Regions from separate parts of the Homo sapiens genome. Here all the other regions are linked to region 1. Evidence: promoter capture Hi-C in human tissues and cell types (Jung and others, 2019). All regions are on one chromosome and are shown on one strand. Each heading gives the region's core, a stretch centred on a gene start or on the middle of the fragment in contact. The rest is flanking DNA. Distances are from core to core; before and after follow the strand shown. Region 1 holds the start of PTHLH (parathyroid hormone like hormone). Region 2 has its middle 390 kb from the start of CCDC91. Region 3 overlaps CCDC91 (coiled-coil domain containing 91). Region 4 has its middle 370 kb from the start of CCDC91.

The links. The method cuts DNA at HindIII sites, captures the fragments that hold promoters and counts their contacts. A contact is called where the count stands out against the background at its distance.
Region 2: a fragment that was not itself captured here is called in contact with the fragment with the promoter of PTHLH in region 1 in 2 of the 25 tissues and cell types used here (IMR-90 fibroblasts and mesendoderm cells).
Region 3: a fragment that was not itself captured here is called in contact with the fragment with the promoter of PTHLH in region 1 in 2 of the 25 tissues and cell types used here (hippocampus and mesendoderm cells).
Region 4: a fragment that was not itself captured here is called in contact with the fragment with the promoter of PTHLH in region 1 in 1 of the 25 tissues and cell types used here (IMR-90 fibroblasts).

Annotation. Positions count from the first base shown.
Region 1 is chr12:27,971,433-27,975,805 of GRCh38, reverse strand. It overlaps PTHLH (parathyroid hormone like hormone), which reads left to right and starts at 3,073. Exons shown (of 6, transcript NM_198965.2): 1 at 3,073-3,283; 2 at 3,787-3,879. RefSeq lists an enhancer at 1-689. The HindIII fragment of the contact is 6,422 bases long and covers 1-4,373 here.
Region 2 is chr12:28,574,494-28,578,634 of GRCh38, reverse strand. No RefSeq gene overlaps it. Among named protein-coding and RNA genes, the nearest start is that of CCDC91, 390 kb to the right of the region's middle. The HindIII fragment of the contact is 5,057 bases long and covers 1-4,141 here.
Region 3 is chr12:28,523,381-28,528,230 of GRCh38, reverse strand. The region is part of intron 12 of CCDC91 (coiled-coil domain containing 91); the gene reads right to left. Among named protein-coding and RNA genes, the nearest start is that of CCDC91, 340 kb to the right of the region's middle. The HindIII fragment of the contact is 6,651 bases long and covers 1-4,850 here.
Region 4 is chr12:28,555,347-28,560,065 of GRCh38, reverse strand. No RefSeq gene overlaps it. Among named protein-coding and RNA genes, the nearest start is that of CCDC91, 370 kb to the right of the region's middle. The HindIII fragment of the contact is 3,155 bases long and covers 381-3,535 here.

The DNA.
Region 1 (4,373 bases), core at 1,824-4,323:
CCCCCAACCCCCACCCTGCGATCGCCAACTGTAACCACTGAGCAGTTATATATAGACAGAGCGGGCTTCGGGGATTAATAATCTTCTCCTTGCCCTCAATTCCGTCCTTTAAGATGCCACCGGATTCCAAGAATCAGACGGAGGGAGTTGGCAGACAGAACTTCGTTCCACGTCCGTTCATATCCTCTCCTCTCCCGCGCCGCACCTCACCCGGCCTTGACTTTGCAGATCGCTTTAAGTGAAATAAAACAGACGGGTCCCGGGGCTCCGGCAGGGCCGAGCTTTACGGGCGCAGGGGAGGCGCGCTGGGAGAGAGCGAGTCGGGGCTCCCGGAGGAAGGGAGTCGCCCCTCCACACCCCGACGCGGCCCCGGACAGGGCCAGGCCAGGGAGGGGGTACGTCTGCCTCATCCTTCTCTCCCCGCGCCCCCACGGGGAAGTCAGCGTCACCGTCTGCCTAGGGCTTATCTCATGTTTGAGTCATAAATTGACCTGGAGGGAGAGGGGAGGGGAGGAAGAGCCCTGCTCAGAGGAAGTTCGCGCGCTCCCTCCGACCCTGTCCTTGGGTCTCGGGGTTCCCGAAGTTTTCCCTTACCCGCAGCCAGATACGGGGCTCTCCCGGGAGGAGGGGGGCGCGCAGGACCAGAGACTCCGAGTATACTCGGGTTAGAAACCAAGCACCCAAGCCGGCGGGACAGGGCGGGGCAGAACGCAAAGACCTCAATAATACCGCTCCGGGCAAGAAGGATTCTGTGCGGCAGTCCGGAGTCCAGACTCTTAGGGACTGAAGCCCGAGGAGAACCTAGGGGAAGTAGTAGCTAGATCCGCTCACGGGCCCCGAGACCCCCGAAGTTCCCATGGAGCCTAAGATCCCCAGGAGCCAAGCCTGCCCCGTCCCTGCGGATCAGCTTCCTAATGGGCGACCCAAGTCTATCGCAGGCGGTGGGGATGAGGACGCTGGGTGGGAGGAGGGGAGGGGAGGCTGAAAAAGATCATCCCCCTTGCCCTAAGGCCTCTCCCAAGACCCTGGACCCCTGCCCTAAGAGACTCAGGCCTCCCTTGCTGCAGTGGGAGCGCAAACACCAGGGCAGGAGACTCCAGAGAAGGAGCGCATAACTCAACGTTTGCTCTCCTGAAGCCTTATTTCTGATAAAAATTACAGAAAAGTTAGGCAGGATCCAAAGACACCGTAATGACCAGCTCAAAGCCAAACAGACAGGACATCCAGTGCGGGTGTCTGGATAGGTATCCTTCCTGCCGGAGAGTTTAGACATCTCAGTCCGGGTGCTGCCCTGGGAAGGGACTTCGAGGCCAGCGTGGCACGGGCAGAGAATGGTGTTAGGGAGGTAAAATGCTTGCGGGGGCAGCCCCTTTTAGGCAGCCCCCGGCTCAAAATTTAAGAAAGGACCATTCGGTTCATGTGGGGAACTGGGCTGCTGCCAGGAGGGCCCTGTGATGCCACCGGAGATTGACTTCAGGTTGAGAGGTTGTCGCCTGAGCCAGGTGGGGCTTGGAACTCTCTCTGTGGCCTCGTACAAGTCCAGAGCTGCCTACTTTCAGGAGCCAAAAACTTGGCCAGCCAAGGGCAGGCATCTGGCTGGCTGGCACCAGTCCAGGAGATCAGGACTGGGACACTGCACATTCATATTCTCTCTCTCTCTCTCTCTCTCTCTCTCTCACACACACACACACACACACACACACACACACACAGAGACATATCTGAAGAAGACTCTTCAGATATGTTTCAATTGTCAGGAGTTTGCGAGGTGCTCAAGTGCTTGACCTTTAAGAACCGGTTCTCAGAGACCCCCATTTCCTAAAGACCTTCTCATCTCACATTGGTTTGGGTTCCTCCCAGGAAACCGCCTCCTCTCTGGGCCTCCTGCTTCAGTTTGGGGGAAGCAGAACATTGCCCAGGAAGTAGGGAAGGGTGAGGAAGGGTGTGAGGCCCACTTTTCCCATGGGAGGATCCCATCAGCTTGATGCATATCTATACACTCCTCCCTGAGGCAGTTCCTCCAGAGGTTAGCAGCCCGCCCTGTTCCTGGAGAAGTCTTATCCTCACCTAACTACAAAAAGATTTAATAAAGAAACACACCCTTTCCTATTGTTACTTGGGGTTTGAAGGCATTACATCTTTTTTTCTTTTTTGCTACCTTGAGGTCAGCTGGCAACAGCCTCCTCTCAAGTCTCAGTCCAGGCGAGCGATGAGAGCCACATTCTAATGGAATCCAATGAGAGCATTACTTGAGCTGATTATGCAACGTCTCTTTGTAAACATTGAAAAAAGTTTGGAGAAGAGATGGGATGAGTTTAGTTGTTTGGTTCCAGGGGATTTTAGAGACATAGCTTGCAGCTACAGATTGGTAAATGTGAAATCTGGATGCTTATTGGTAATAAGAGAATTCCCAAGCCCAGGTGCACTGTTTAAAGTGCTATAGATTCATATTTGGTTTATAATGTATATCTGTTTGCTGTTTGGGTTAAGGAGGAAAGAAGAAAGAAGGATGAAGAGGCTAAGCATAAATGCTATTTACTTTTTTCTAAGCTATGACAGGAGATATACATTAACTGGGTATTCAACTGAATTTAAGAGTAATGCATTTAAAATTTTTTCAACCTCTTTTAAAATTTGATATACTGTAATAAACTGCCACTGGGGATGGGAAGATGGAAGCCTGGTGCTCATGGGCTAGGCATTTGTGTAGGTGTAGATCTTATAATGCTAAACATGGAAATACTTCAGATTAGAGGCAGGCCTTCCCATTTGCTAAGGTGCATTTACATGACAGCAAGGCCTAAGCAAACATTTAGCTTCTATTGGCACTTGTTCTATTTCTAAACCTTAGAAAAAAGGTGTGTGTGTGGGCTGGGGGGACGGGGGGGGGAGGGAGGTGGTAGGGGGTGCTCTTGCTGTGTCTCATTTGCAGTCATGCATCCTCTGCATTATTATGATGGAGATTACTCAGTTATGTTAGGAACTAGATTATGATGTCAGAAAATATCCTTTCCAAAACAGGCAAAAAGTCAGGGTCCTGGGTATATATTGAGGAGAATTTCTACGGAAAGTAATAAACAGGGCAGCTTGGAAGAGGTACCTGCTTTCTAATAATTGCCTTTAGTGGGAACAGAAGTCTCCTTTCAAGAAGCTTTTAATTCATTTTAAGATTTAATTTTATGTTTTCTGAAGAACAACAAAAAATATTTCTGGAAAAGACTGCTGAGAAGATTTCCCTCTTTCAGCCAGAAGAGCAGAGAGAAGATTGTAAATCAAGGAAAAGGTGAAGTAATAAATTAGGAGGGAACTTTGGTATTCCGAGTATATAAAGACTATTTATTTTTCCTGTGTCTATATTTTCTCTTTTTGTGGAGGAGAGGAAATTCTAAAAATATTTGATAGATGTTTTGCCATTAACACCAGAAAAGTGTGTGGGGAAAAAGAAAGGAGGGAAGGAGTGGGGGGTTAATTTTGTTTAATTAGTAGAAAAAGCAACATAAATCAAAGCAGTCTATTGATGCCAGTCCTTAATTTATAATGTTCTGAAAGTAAAGTGAATTTATTTACAACATAAGTGATTTGATAATTTCAATCTGATTTTTGTTTTAACCTTCTATTGGGAGAAGGGTTGACTTTTTAAAGCCTGGATAGTTTGAAACTTGGCTAGGTACCTTGGACTTTTTATTGTGGAAGCAAATATTATCATTTCAATGTTAAACAACTTGCAAGTATTAAATGGCTCATTTGTGATTGACTTTTTTTTTTTTTTTTTTTTTTTTTTTACAGATTTCCCCCTTCAGATCTAACGATTACATTAGGGCTCCTGCATCTTTTTGGAAGGATTCTTTTTATAAATCAGAAAGTGTTCGAGGTTCAAAGGTTGACATTTCTGAGTGCTGATACTTTGTCCTTTCATACTATCCAAACAAGTCTAACATTTAGAAATCCTTACACATTCAAGGGAAGTTGTGGAAATTCCCAGAGAGAGAGTGTGTGTGTGTGCGTGTGTGTGTTTTGGTTTTGTTTTGCTTTTTTTCTTTGTTAGTGAGAAGAAGCCGAGTCTTTTAAGGTACGGGGTTTACAGTAATGAACTGAGGAAGGCAGGAGCTTCTAAGAAAATATGCCCCCCCACCCAACCTAAGCAGTAAACTTTAACTGCTAGCTAGCTGCAGTGAACCAGTGGGAGCCCCGATGAGCGAGGGTCTCGGTGACAGCGTGCTATTTCTCCCACCCTGGGTAAAATATGTGGAGCATCACCCGGAAAGTCGGGCTTGATAAAGGCCACATTCCTTGAATCATCTCAAGAATCTAAATCACACTAGCCTTCTAGAAACTAATGAACCCTACCAGCAGGATTGCCTAGAAGACAAATA
Region 2 (4,141 bases), core at 606-3,105, 600 kb before region 1:
TTGGTGCTACTAGGGTGGAGCAGAGAGTACACGTCTAACAAGTTCCAGGTGATGGAGATGCTGATTTCCTGGGGAACACACAAGAAACACTGCAATAATGAAACAGGCAGGGAGAATGCCAAAAGGCCATTTTTTGGGAAAAGAAAAAAATCTCTATGTGTCATCAGGCTAGGCTTGTGAAGAATGAAGAGACGGCTAAGCTTTTCCCCAGAAGCCCGGCTTCTGTATGGCCTGCCCATCTATACACAGAACCTTCTGCCTCCTGTTTTCTGTTCTCCCTTTCCTACATCCAGTTCTCAAGAGAGCTCACAGATCTTGCTATCTTAATTTACCCTAAGGTGGAAGTTAATCACAGCAATTATTCCTCGTAGAGACTTTTAAGACGGATCAAAACTTTATTCCCAAGAAACGAAATTCAAACAAGGAAAGTGCATTTATTTTAAATGGGAAACTTTTTGTTATATTTCCACTCTATCGACTCATTACACCAGAGTGATCTAAACAGCACATCTCTTCATGCTACTTCTTGCTCAAATTCTTCAATGACCTTCTATATCCTACAGGTACATTTTAAATTTTTAGCGAGACTCCCAGGCCTTTCAATATATGCCACTGCCTACATGTTCAACCTCATCTACCACTTCTCCCTCTTTCCACTTTAAATACAATACTGAGCTATTTCAAGTTATCTGAAAATGTTCTGTTCTCAGGCTCAGCTGCATAATTTCTGGGGACAAATGGAATATGAAAAGCCAAGGCTCATTGTTCAAAATGTACTAAAGAATTTTAAGACAGCAAGGGCAGAGCATTTGCCCAAGAGCAGAGGCTTCTCAGCATGGGTCCCTGAGTGATGGCAGGCTACAGGCCCATGAAGCGACCTATTCTAGAGATAATAACTCATAAATCCCCTGGCACTTGTTTTCAGGTGTCACAAAGAAACTGCTCAAATATTTTAATTTCCTTTTGCTCTGAATTACTATCTTTAGATCTGTTGAATTTTAAGTATAGGAATGCACTTGAATTTTACCACAGTGCATTTGTTCTTTTTCCAGGAAAACACTTGCATGACTAGAGCATGCAACACACTCCCTTGACCCTGGTGCCACTTACTCTCCTCAAGCCACTGTCATACTCTTTCCCTCTTTGGTACCTTTGCAACATACTATTCCCTCCTTCTGAAATGCAATTCACCTGTCTGTCATCTGATAAACTCCCACTCACCATCAGCTGCTCGGCTCAGTCTCCACCTTTGCTGTGAGGCCTTTCCCAATACCTGGGGGGCAGATTTAGGCTCAGGGTGCACATCTGCACTTTGTGATTAATTTATTGGATCTTAATCTTGTTCATACGAACAAGAGACTCTAGGCTATTCAAAGGCATCAATAGATCTTTGTATCTTCCATGTCTAGCATGGTGGCCTGGAGGAAGGATTCAAAAGTACTTCTTAAAATGAAAAGATGAGTGGTCAGCTTTAACATTTTTTACTTATTTCAAAAGTAGTTTCTTGGAAGAAAAACATTTCTAAAGCCAAGGGGTAGCTTAAATGTGATTCTATCTTTTGGAATTACTAGGTGGGGTTGTTAATTTACTTCTAGTTTCCACAAAGGGAGGACATTCTGAAGAAAGAACTGAACTTCGTGGTCTTTCAAATCTAATCCATGTGGGTTTGACCCCTGGAGATGTGTTCAGTCCTGCTGAGTGGAGGATTGTGGCAGATGGGACAATTTGAAAATGTCACCAAGAATGCCTCCCTAGACTGGTTGCATATGGGAAATTTTATTCTTATTTCAAATATCAGCAACTATTTGAGGTCTACAGTCAATTTCTTAGGGCGGACGATCTAGTCTGTGGTTGCTGTAGGTTCTTCCTGCCTCCTCCTCCTTCGTGACTTCTAACTATTCTGACTGTTGCCCTACCATGGGTGGGTGCAGAAATACCTTTCATGCTGAAATTCCAACCAATAAAGTCTGCTTTTTTAAAACGTATGGTTTGTCTATGAATTTCATGTACCTAAGCTATCTTCATTCCTGGCTGACACATAAAAGAGCATTAGCAGAATATCATATTTACTTAGGTTTTTTTTTTCCTCTAAATTGCACATATTGTTCTGAGCACAGTATAAGAGAAAATCTAGGAAATCGTTTAAAATTTTAACCTTTTAACATGTGCTTTAGCAATTGGTGTGTACCCTGTCCTTGCACACAGTCTAAGGGGTTGTAACAGCATTTGCTTGTTTCTTTCTGGCCAGGTCATGGAGAGAAGAGAGCTCATTGTTACCAGCTTTCTGCCTACATTGCTGTTCTCAATCTTTCTTGCTCTACTTTTGTTTGTTTCCTTTTCTCTTGAAGCTGGTGCACTTTCATTCCTTCAACACACCTCCAGCCTGGTGGATATCACTACTGAACTGGGAGAAAGGATGGCTAGGTCCGGGCATGAATCTAAAAATGCAAGAAAATCTTCAACAGGTTAGATGCATCTTCAGCAGGTGTTGAAACCTAAATCTCCATTGGGACAGGTAAGTTTATCCACCTGCTCTGAAAGCAAATCCTAGACTGTCTAAACCAAGTGACTCATTAAGAGGAGCAGGAAACACATGAGAAATCTTGGATTGAATCAGAAAGTCGACTAGCAAGGCAGCTTTATCCTTCTCTTGGATGTTAATGGTTCAGTTTTAATTTTAACCTGTTTGGGTGGATTTCCTATTGACTCATTCATTCTGAGTTTTGTCAAACGTGCATTCCCAAATGCAAGTCCGATTTGCTTGGATACTTAATTCATTTGGGAGCCTTAAACTTGCTTTCCTAGGCTGGACTCTCAGGGTTGGGAGGGAGTTCAATGGGTTATGCAGTCTGTCCCCATCTGACACCTGAATCTGTCCTACCACTGCCATGTCTGGGTCTGTGTCCTCTTTGCCTACACATTCCCAGGGGTGGAAAATTAACTGCTGTCCAAGGTTGCCTACTTAATCCTTGATCAGCTCTATTAGCAATATCTTCTTTTCATAAGCCACACATCAGCTAAGTTCAGCTTGCCCTTTCAGGATTCAAATGAAATTGTTTTGCATTCTCCTTCCTTATGTGGTGAGCCATTTAACAACTCTCTCAAACTCTCTGCTAATCTTTGACATGTGGGCAAGTTGTTTATAATGTTCCTGGCTACCTCTGGCTGAGGCCTAATCACTCCATGTACGGGCTCCCTCTCTTTTCTGTGCCTGCTCTCTGTTCTGTGTACCCTGTCACTCCACACTGAACATTCCCCGTCTTCCTGTTTGGACATTCTACGGGAGCCTGTCTCAAACACAAGGCTATGTGATGTGTGGGATGGATTTTAACAGGAGAATTGGGGCAATTGTTGGAGTTTACAGGACATCAACCAAACAACCTATGATTACATATCAGACACTTCTATTCTTTAAAGTCTTTCAGCCACCCCATCACCAGGAGCCTCTCTCCTTGGACACTTTTTCTGTAGCTTCGGCCTCTCAGCATGGCACTTGGCCCTGTCTCTTCTTCTAACTCCTCCCTCTTCTGTCTAGTTTCATGCTTCTATATCAACTTCTAGTTAGCTTCTTCTACATAGAAATTTGATTTTGCTTTTTATTCTTCTAAACTTTGACCTTTGGACCTCATGCCCCACAGCCTGGGCAGTTTGTCAACATATCTTTCCAAACATTGCCCATTTCCTGGAAGTCTTGTGCCAGCTGTTACCCTGCCTCCATGTGGTTACCTGAAGCCCAAGTCTGACTCACTGTAGCTTCTATCTCATTCATTAAAGCCTGCCCTCTCTTCGCTGGCCTGTTGCTCTGGAGTCATTGCTATGGTCAGAAAGAACACAGGCTTTGGAATTAGACCTGAATTTGAATCCCAGACCTACTACTCAAAAGCTGTGTGATACCCATCATGCTATCTTTTGAGGCCATGTTTTTCAGCCATGAAATGGTGACAATTATACCCCCTAAAAGCTTTGTGTGATAATTTGATTAGGTGATGCACAGGGTCTGGTATATGGTACACACTCAAAAATGTTTATTTCCTTCCCTTCTTCTTATCCAGCTTCAGACTGCAGCATTGGTGTAGGTGAATCTTCCTCAGACTGGCTGGATCCATTTATTTTGACCTCTGCCCCTTACCTACTTGATATC
Region 3 (4,850 bases), core at 767-3,266, 550 kb before region 1:
CTTGCCTCACAGGGGCCCTTGAGGAGGGCTGCCAGAGGCACTGGGAAAAAAACCACAGGGAGAAGGAAACCTCCAGTGGAACTTTGCAACAATTTGAACCGATTGAGAAGTCTCCTGGCCAGAACTCTGAAGAGGGCATGAATCCAGCGTGCAGACTCCACAGGTGGGGGGAGAAGGAAAGCCCTGCTTACTTTCACAGCTGGGAGGTGGGTAACATGGGGCAAGTTCTTAGCCCTGCTCACTCACTGCCTGGAAACAGACTTGGTGCTCTTGGCGGGGGGGCACAGTGGGAGTGAGACCAGCCATTTGGGTTAGACGGGAGCTGAGTGAGGCCTGTGACTCCTGTCTTTCCCCCAGTTTCCTGGCAACCTGCATGACACAACAGAGGCAGCCATAATCCTCCTAGGAACATAATTCCACTGACGTGGGAACCTCACCCCCATCTCCCACAGCAGTTGCAGCAAGACCTGCCCAAGTAGAGTCCAAGCCCAGGCATGCCTAGCCCTGCCACCATCTAATGGTCCTTTCCTACCACCCTGGTAACTGAAGACAATGGGCATATACTCTTGGGAGTTATGGGGCCCCACCTACCAAATGTTCCCCCCCCATACTCCCATAGCTGATGCTCTCTTGCAAGTGCCACTTCCCAGCAGGTCAACCAGCACAAAAATAGCACACTAATCAACCAAAGCTAAGAACACTCAGAGTCCATTTCACTCCCCTGCCACTGCCACCCGAGCAGGTGCTCGTATCCATGGCTGAGAGACCCAAAGATGGTTCACATCACAGGACTCTGTGCAGACAACCTCCAGTACTAGCCCAGAGTCTGATACATTTGCTAGGTGGCTATATCCAGAAGAGAGATAACAATCATTACAGCTCAGCTCTCGGGAACCCCCATCCCTAGGAAAGGAGAAGAGTATTACATCAAGGGAGTATCCCGTGGGACAAAATAATCTGAACAAGAGCCTTGAGCCCTAGACCTTCTTCTGACAGAGCCTATCCAAATAAGAAACCAGAAAACCAACCCTGGTAATGGGAAAAAACAAGGTTCTTTAACACCCCCTAAAAATCACACTAGCTCACCAAATATGAATCCAGACCAAGAAGAAATCCCTGATTTACCTGAAAAAGAATTCAGACAGTTAGTTATTAAGCTAATAAGGGAGGCACCAGAGAAAGGCAAAGTCCAATGTAAGGAAATCCAAAATATAATACAAGAAGTGAAAGGAGAACTATTCAAGGAAATAAATAGCATAAATAATAAACAATTAAACCTTCAGGAAATGATGGACACACTTATAGAAATACAAAATGCTCTGGAAAATCTCAGCAATAGAATTGAACAAGCAGAAGAAAGAACTTCAGAGCTTGAAGATAAAGTTTTCAAATTAACCCAATCCAACAAAGACAAAGAAAAAAGAATAAGAAAATATGAACAAAGACTCCAAGAAGTCTGGGATTATGTTAAATGGCCAAACCTAAGAATAATCGGTGTTCCTGAGGAGGAAGAGAAAACTAAAAGTTTAGAAAATATATTTGGGGGAATAATTGAGGAAAAGTTCCCCAGCCTTGCTAGAAACCTAGACATCCAAATACAGGAGGCTCAAACAACACCTGGGAAATTCATCATAAAAAGATAATCACCTAGGCACACTGTCAACAGGTTATCTAAAGTTAAGATGGAGGACAGAATTTTAAGAGCTGTGAGGCAAAAACACCAGGTAACCTATAAAGGAAAACCAATCAGATTAACAATAGATTTCTCAGCAGAAACCCTACAGGCTAGAAGGATTGGGGCCCTATCTTTAGCCTCCTCAAACAAAACAATTATCAGCCAAGAATTTTGTACCCAGCAAAACTAAGCTTCATAAATGAAGGAAAGATACAGTCTTTTTCAGACAAACAAACATATGCTGAGAAAATTTGCCACTACCAAGCCAGCACTACAAGAACTGCTAAAAGGAGCTCTAAATCTTGAAACAAATTCTGGAAACACATCAAAACAGAACCTCTTTAAAGCATAAATCTCACAGGACCTATAAAACAAAAATACAATTAAAAAAAAAAAAACCAAGGTATACAGGCAACAAATAGCATGATGAATGGAATAGTACCTCACATCTCAATACTAACATTGAACATAAATGGCCTAAATGCTCCACTTAAAAGATACAAAATTGCCGAATAGATAAGAATTCATCAACTAAATATCTGCTGCCTTCGAGACACACCTAACACATATGGACTCACACAAACTTAAGGTAAAGGGATGGAAAACAACATTCCATGCAAATGGACACCGAAAGTGAGCAGGAGTAGCTATTCCTATATCACATAAAACAAACTTTAAAAACAGCAGTTAAAAAAGACAAAGAGGGACATTATATAACAATAAAAGGCTTTGTCCAACAGGGAAGTATCAGAATCATAAATATATAAATTTGGGAGATCCCAAATTTATAAAACAATTACTAATAGACCTAAGAAATGAGATAGACAGCAACATAATAATAGTGGGGGGACTTAAATACTACACTGACAGCACGAGACAGGTCATCAAGACAGAAAGCCAACAAAATAACAATGCATTTAAACTATACCCTGGAACAAGTAGACTTAACAGATATTTACAGAACGTTCTACCCAACAACCACAGAATATACATTCTAATCAACAGTGCATGGAACTTTCTCCAAGATAGACCATATGACAGGCCACAAAACAAGCCTCAATAAATTTAAGAAAATTGAAATTATATCAAGCACTCTCTCAGACCACAGTGGAATAAAACTGGAAATCAACTCCAAAAGGAACCTTCAAAACCATGCAAATACATGGAAATTAAATGACTTGCTCCCGAATGATCATTGGGCTAACAATGAAATCATGATGGAAATTAAAAACTCTTCGAACTGAATGACAATAGTGACACAACCTATCAATACCTCTGGGATACAGCAAAGGTGGTGCTAGGAGGAAAGTTTACAGCCCTAAACGCCTATATCAAAGAGTCTGAAAGAGCACAAACAGATAATCTAAAGTCACACCTCAAGGAACTAGAGAAGTAAGAACAAACCAAACCCAAACCCAGCAGAAGAAAGGAAATAACCGAAATGTGAGCAGAACCAAGTGAAACTGAAACAAACAAAAAACAATACAAAAGATACATGAAACAAAAAGCTGGTTCTTTGAAACGATAAATAAAATTGAATTACCATTAGCAAGATTAACCAAGAAAAGAAGAGAGAACATCCAACTAAGCTCAATTAGAAATGAAATGGGAGATATTACAACTGACATCACAGAAATACTAAACATCATTCAAAGCTACTATGAACACCTTTATGTGCATAAACCAGAAAACCTAGAGGAGATGGATAAATTCCTGGAAAGACAAACACTCCTATCTTAAATCAAGAAGAATTAGATACTTAGAACAGACCAATAAAAAGCAGTGAGACTGAAAGGGTAATAAAAAATTACCAACAAAACAAGTCCAGGACCAGACGCATTCACAACAGCTTTATACCAGACATTAAAAAAGAACTGTTACCAATCCTATTGACACTATTCTACAAGACAGAAAAAGAGGGACGCCTCCCTAAATCATTCTATGAAGCCAGTATCACCCTAATATCTAAATCAGGAAAGGATACAACCAAAAAAGAAAACTACCGACCAATATCCCTGTTGAACAGATATGCAAAAAACCTCAACAAAATACTAGCTAACTGAATCCAACAACATATCAGAGATAATCCAGCATGATTAAAGTGGGTTTAATACCAGGGATGCAGGGATAGTTTAACATATGCAAGTCAATAAATGTGATACACCACATAAACAGAATCAAAAACAAAAATCACATGAGCCATTTGACAAAATCCAACATTCCTTTATGATTAAAACTCTCAGCAAAATTGGCATACAAGGGACATGCCTCAAGGTAATAAAAACCATTTATGACAAACCCACAGCCAACATAATACTGAACGGGGAAAAGTTGAAAGCATTCCCTCTGAGAACTGGAACAAGACAAGGCTGCCCACTCTCACTACTCCTCTTCAACATAGTACTGGAAGTCCTAGTCAGAGCAATCAGAAAAGAGAAAGAATTTTGGCCGAGAGATCCACTGTTAGTCTGATGGGCTTCCCTTTGTGGGTAACCTGACCTTTCTCTCTGGCTGCCCTTAATATTTTTTCCTTCATTTCAACTTTGGTGAATCTGACAATCATGTGTCTTAGAGTTACTCTTCTTGAGGAGTATCTTTGTGGCGTTCACAGTGGATGCCTTGGCAAAAACTCTACAAGCCAGAATAGAGTGGGGGCTAATATTCAACGTTTTTAAAGAAAAGAATTTTCAACCCAGAATTTCATATCCAGCCAAACTAAGCTTCATAAGTGAAGGAGAAATAAAATCCTTTACAGACAAGCAAATGCTGAGAGATTTTGTCAACACCAGGCCTGCCTTACAAGAGCTCCTGAAGGAAGCACTAAACCTGGAAAGGAACAACCACTACCAGACACTGAAAATACATGCCAAATTGTAAAGACCATCGATGCTAGGAAGAAAATGCATCAACTAACAAGCAAAATAACCAGTTAATATCATAATGACAGGATGAAATTCACACATAACAATATTAACCTTAAATGTAAATGGGCTAAATGCTCCATTTAAAAGACACAGACTGGCAAATTGGATAAAGAGTCAAGACCCATCAGTGTGCTGTATTCAGGAGACCCATCTCATGTGCAGAGACACACATAGGCTCAAAATAAAGGGATGGAGGAAGATCTACCAGGCAAATGGAAAACAAAAAAAGGCAGGGGTTGCAATCCTAGTCT
Region 4 (4,719 bases), core at 709-3,208, 590 kb before region 1:
AATAGGATCAATCTATCCTTCTGTCCCAGAAGCAGAGATCTCATAATGTTATGAAATTCATAACAGTATCATAAGCCTTTAAGGTGGAGAAATCATAAAAAATGAATTGTTGAAGAAACTCCTTAGTAATAATAAGTAACATCAGATCTTAGATGCTGATTACAGAGGGGAACTCTGAGTTTGAAAACATTTTATTTAACCTAACCAAAGCTTACGTTAAAATCAAGGGGAACTTATTTTAAAACAACTTTTAAATGCCATGTATCTAGTATTTTAATGCAATCTATCTTTCCTTTGTCAATTATAGCTCAATAAAGAATTCTAAATAATTACAGAAACTGTGATGATGGCATGTTCAATGGAAAGCTGATTAGAATGTATTGTTCTGAGCCAAATATTCATTTTATTGCTAAATATATCATATTCAACAAATGGGAGTTTGACAAAAAGCAAATTTTCCTTCCTTGGACCATTTACACTTTTTTCTTGGAATTCTTAGAAAAATATTATAATGTAATGTAATTATAATGTAAACTCATGTAGGCAAAGCTTTGGTTTCTGGTCATAGCAAAATATCTATAAAAGAGTGATATGGTTTGGTTGTGTCCCCACTCAAATCTCATCTTGAATTGTAGCTCCCATAATTCCCACATGTTGTGGGAGGGACCCTGTGGGAAGTCTTTCCTGTGCTGTTCTTGCGATAGTGAATAAATAAATCTCTTGAGATCTGATGGGTTTATAAAGGGGAGTTCCCCTGCACACACTCTACTGCCCACTGCCATGTGAGAAGTCCCGTTGCTCTTCCTTTGTCTTCTGCCATCATTGTGAGGCCTCCCCAGGCGTGTGGAACTGTGAGTCTACTAAACCTTTTTCTTTATAAATTACTCAGTCTTCGGGTATGAAGGTTACAAGAATTGAGTTGATTTTCTGAAACTTCTTTAGAATAGCTTTTATTTCTGGGACTTTTCAACACCAGATTCCAGATAGATTAAAAAACTGATCAATCTCAAACCTGATATATAAAGTTGACACAAACAATTTAGAACTAAATTGTTAACATTTATTTACCATATTTAGTTTCCTCTTCAGTCATAAAGGTATGATTAAACTTATTGGCTCAGCCATTGGAATTGGCTAGAGATCCTTGAAGAAGAAAAAATTTTATGAATTTAAAAGAAACAGAAGCCAAGCTTAATTTTAACCTTTCTTCACAGTCTTTAATCATATCATCAATCTTCTTGTTTGGATGTCATTTAGGATAGGGTGAAATACCATCTGCTATGGAAAAGCTCAAACGCAGTATTTTCTGGATGTACTGGACTAGGTAAAGTCTGCAATTCCCCTCCAGACCTAGGATTTGATGTGTAGACAGAACGTGCAATTTTGCAATCTGCTGAGCCAGAAGAGGATTTAATATTACATCCAGAACTGTACTCAAATTGTCAAAAAATGTTCAATAAAATAACTGTAAATCATACTCAGTTAAACTAGCTGGCAAAGGTAGCATGACAAAATTGAGAAATAATGCATATGGGACATAGTGATATTTACATGTTTTCAGGGCTTACGCCCTGGGTGGCTATTTACAAGACAGCAGTTTCCACCCTTCCCCTCCACTTCAGGTTTGATACAAGGCCAAGTCCTCAATCTGACTTTATATGACTGTGGTCTAGTTCAGATTAGTATTTGTCACCACTCTTCATAGCAGACAGGAATTCAGCAGACTGGGGAAGAAGGAAAAGGAGGACAGGGAAGAAATTAAGGGACTAAGTCTGTTGAAGGTAAACATACCTGTGATCTGCTGCCTGGGATAATCACAACAGTAAAACATGAAGTTTGCATGCCAGGCAGATGCTCACAGTTTAACACTTTTTAGATAACCACTGAAGGAAAGAGCATCTTAGAATTCTCAACATATTTGCTGCCACCAAAAAAAAAAAAAAAAAAAAAAAAGTCATGCAATAAAGCATTATTTTTATGCACCCTCTCTGAAAATGTTTTGCAGAATTCTAAGCTTCTTACTTAGAAGCTAACAGAACATCTCGCTGGAAGATGATAGATCATAAACATTCTTCAAATAAAGTAAGACACAGTTTAACAGAAAACTGTCAATCAGAACAAATGAATCAGTATAACAAACATATATATATTTTTTGAGATGGATTCTCGCTCTGTTGCCAGGCTGGAATGCAGAGGTGCAATCTCGGCTCACTGCACCCTCCGCCTGCCGGATTCAAGTAGCTGGGATTACAGGTGCCCACCACCACGCCCAGCTAAGTTTTGTATTTTTAGTAGAGCCGGGGTTTCACCATGTTGGCCAGGATGGTCTCGATCTCTTCACCTCGTGGTCTACTGGCCTCGGCCTCCCAAAGTGTTGGGATTACAGGCGTGAGCCACTGCACTCAGCCCAAACATATTTTTAAAAGCCAAAAAATAATATATCATCAATCCTAAAAATATTAACAAAAATAGTGACAAATTTAAAAGTAAGGATGATGTAAACAGCCACTGTTTCTTTATGAATACAGGACATAAACTCTTAACTACGGGCCAGACACGGTTTTAATTGCTTTTTATGTATTAGCACTCAAACAATCTTATGAAGTACATTCTATTGTCGTCTTTCTAAAACTGAGGAAACTGAGGCACTGGAGATCTTATATGTTAAGCTGGTAAATGACAGCCTTGAGACTTGAACCAGGGAGGCTGGCTCCATGCTGGATGAACTATGGTAAGTTATGAAAGGGAGGAACGCAAATCTCTAAGTTTTGCAATGGGAACAATACTCATTTATGTATTTCCAAATAATATGTGATGTGGTTTCCCATGCTGATATCATGGATGAGCTGTATCAGTTTCAATGAATAGGTAAAATTTGAGGAAAGAAGCTGGTAGTTTCAGGTTTTGTGTTATGTTCTTTCTTTGAATAAAATTTAGGACAGAATGAAATTACTTTATTCACTCTTTCAATTTTCTTCTTTGAAAATGTTAAGATTATAATGCTTATTATGCCACTGACTTACTGATTTGGACTGATGATTTTAAGAATTGATTAGAGCTTTGGGGAAGATTAATCTTCTGGAAGAATTTTTATTGTTACATTATATTAGCTAAATTATAGTTGATTTCTTGATTTTATATTTCAGCCAGGCCTTTTTTTCATTAAGCTAATGTAACTCCAGGTTAAGTCACTGTATTGAAGTAGGATTGATTTTCTTGAGCTGTGGAACATAAGTCTTTTCCCACTAGGTAAACAATAGCAATTAAATGAAATTTGGCATAGAAGGGAAATGATTTTCCCACAGTTTTGTCCCACCAGCATACAAACTGGTCTGATGCCTCACAAGCCAGAGGGCTTAGTGCAGCTTTGGTGATATACCACTCAGCATAATCTGGTTGTCAAAAAGCTGTGCCTGGAGCTTGTGCTGAGAAAGATCATTAGCATCCTTTGGTGGGAGATATATTACAAAAGTGAATCCAAACAGAATGCGTGGCTAAATTTAAAAAAGTAGGTGAATATTACTTGCAAAAGGCAATACCTGCCCTTGTGAAAAGCGTGGGCATCAGGCCGACCTGGTATGGAACCGGCAGTGATCATTGGTAAGTTAATTAGCCTCTGTAAGCATTGCTTTCCTCTTCTTTAATAGGAGGTATCTACCTCACAGAACTGTTAAAGGCACTCACTAGTTGTAATATGACTAGCACAATACATGGTATAATTCAAGCTCAGTAATTTTTTAAAACGAAAAGCTACTTCTCAACAAATTCAATTACTGGGGCGGGGGGGGGGGGCGGTGGTGTAAGTAAAATAATTTCAAAGGCATAATAATTAGACATTATTTTGCATTCCCCAAAGTCCATTTTGGAAGTCTGAATCTTTATATGCAGTTACTCATTTTCTGCTTAATCTTTAAAACTATGGTCATAATGATTCTCCAGGCAACTCTCAAAAACAAACCAAGGCAGAAATTCAAATTTAAATAGACGAGTTTCTATTTTTAGGATAATTTTGGCCGAAGATCAGAGAAATCCTTTCTTGGTGGCACTAAACTAGAAGTGTTCCCAGCTCTAAGAATCATACACTAGAAAGTTTTCCAGTAAGGTCTCCTTTAATCTGTACGCATTATGCAATTAAATAATATATCAACAGCACTGGGTTCTCAGCTTTCTTTTTTTCTTGAAGTGTTTCACATGCATTTGTACTCATGACATGCCTACTCTACACACCAATCTTAAAAAGAAAGGAAGGAAACAAACGTAACTGTGTTTGTGTGATTAGGAGAAATAACTTGGTTACTGCTTCCCCTCTGGCAAGGGAATCTCTATATTTGCATTTTCCAAGAGTAGCCACTAGTCACATGTAACTATAAAATTTAAATAAAATAAAATTAATTAGTGTCCTCTGTCACACTAGCCACATTTCAAGTGTTCAGTAACCACATGTAGCTAGGAGCAAGCAAGCTGGGCCGTGCATATAGAGAGAGTTTCCATCATCTCAGAAACTTTTATCAGGTAACATTGCCAAATGATTGACAACGACGATACCCAATTACAGTATAATTTTTCTTTCTTATTAAGTGTACTAAGATACAGGCACCCTCTATTCTTTAAAAGTATGTAAAAATACCTCTAGCACAAAATGTAAAACTAAAGACCATCTCAGACCTTTATTCCCACCCCTTCCCCTTGTATTGGCTTACTTAAATTATTTCATGGAAA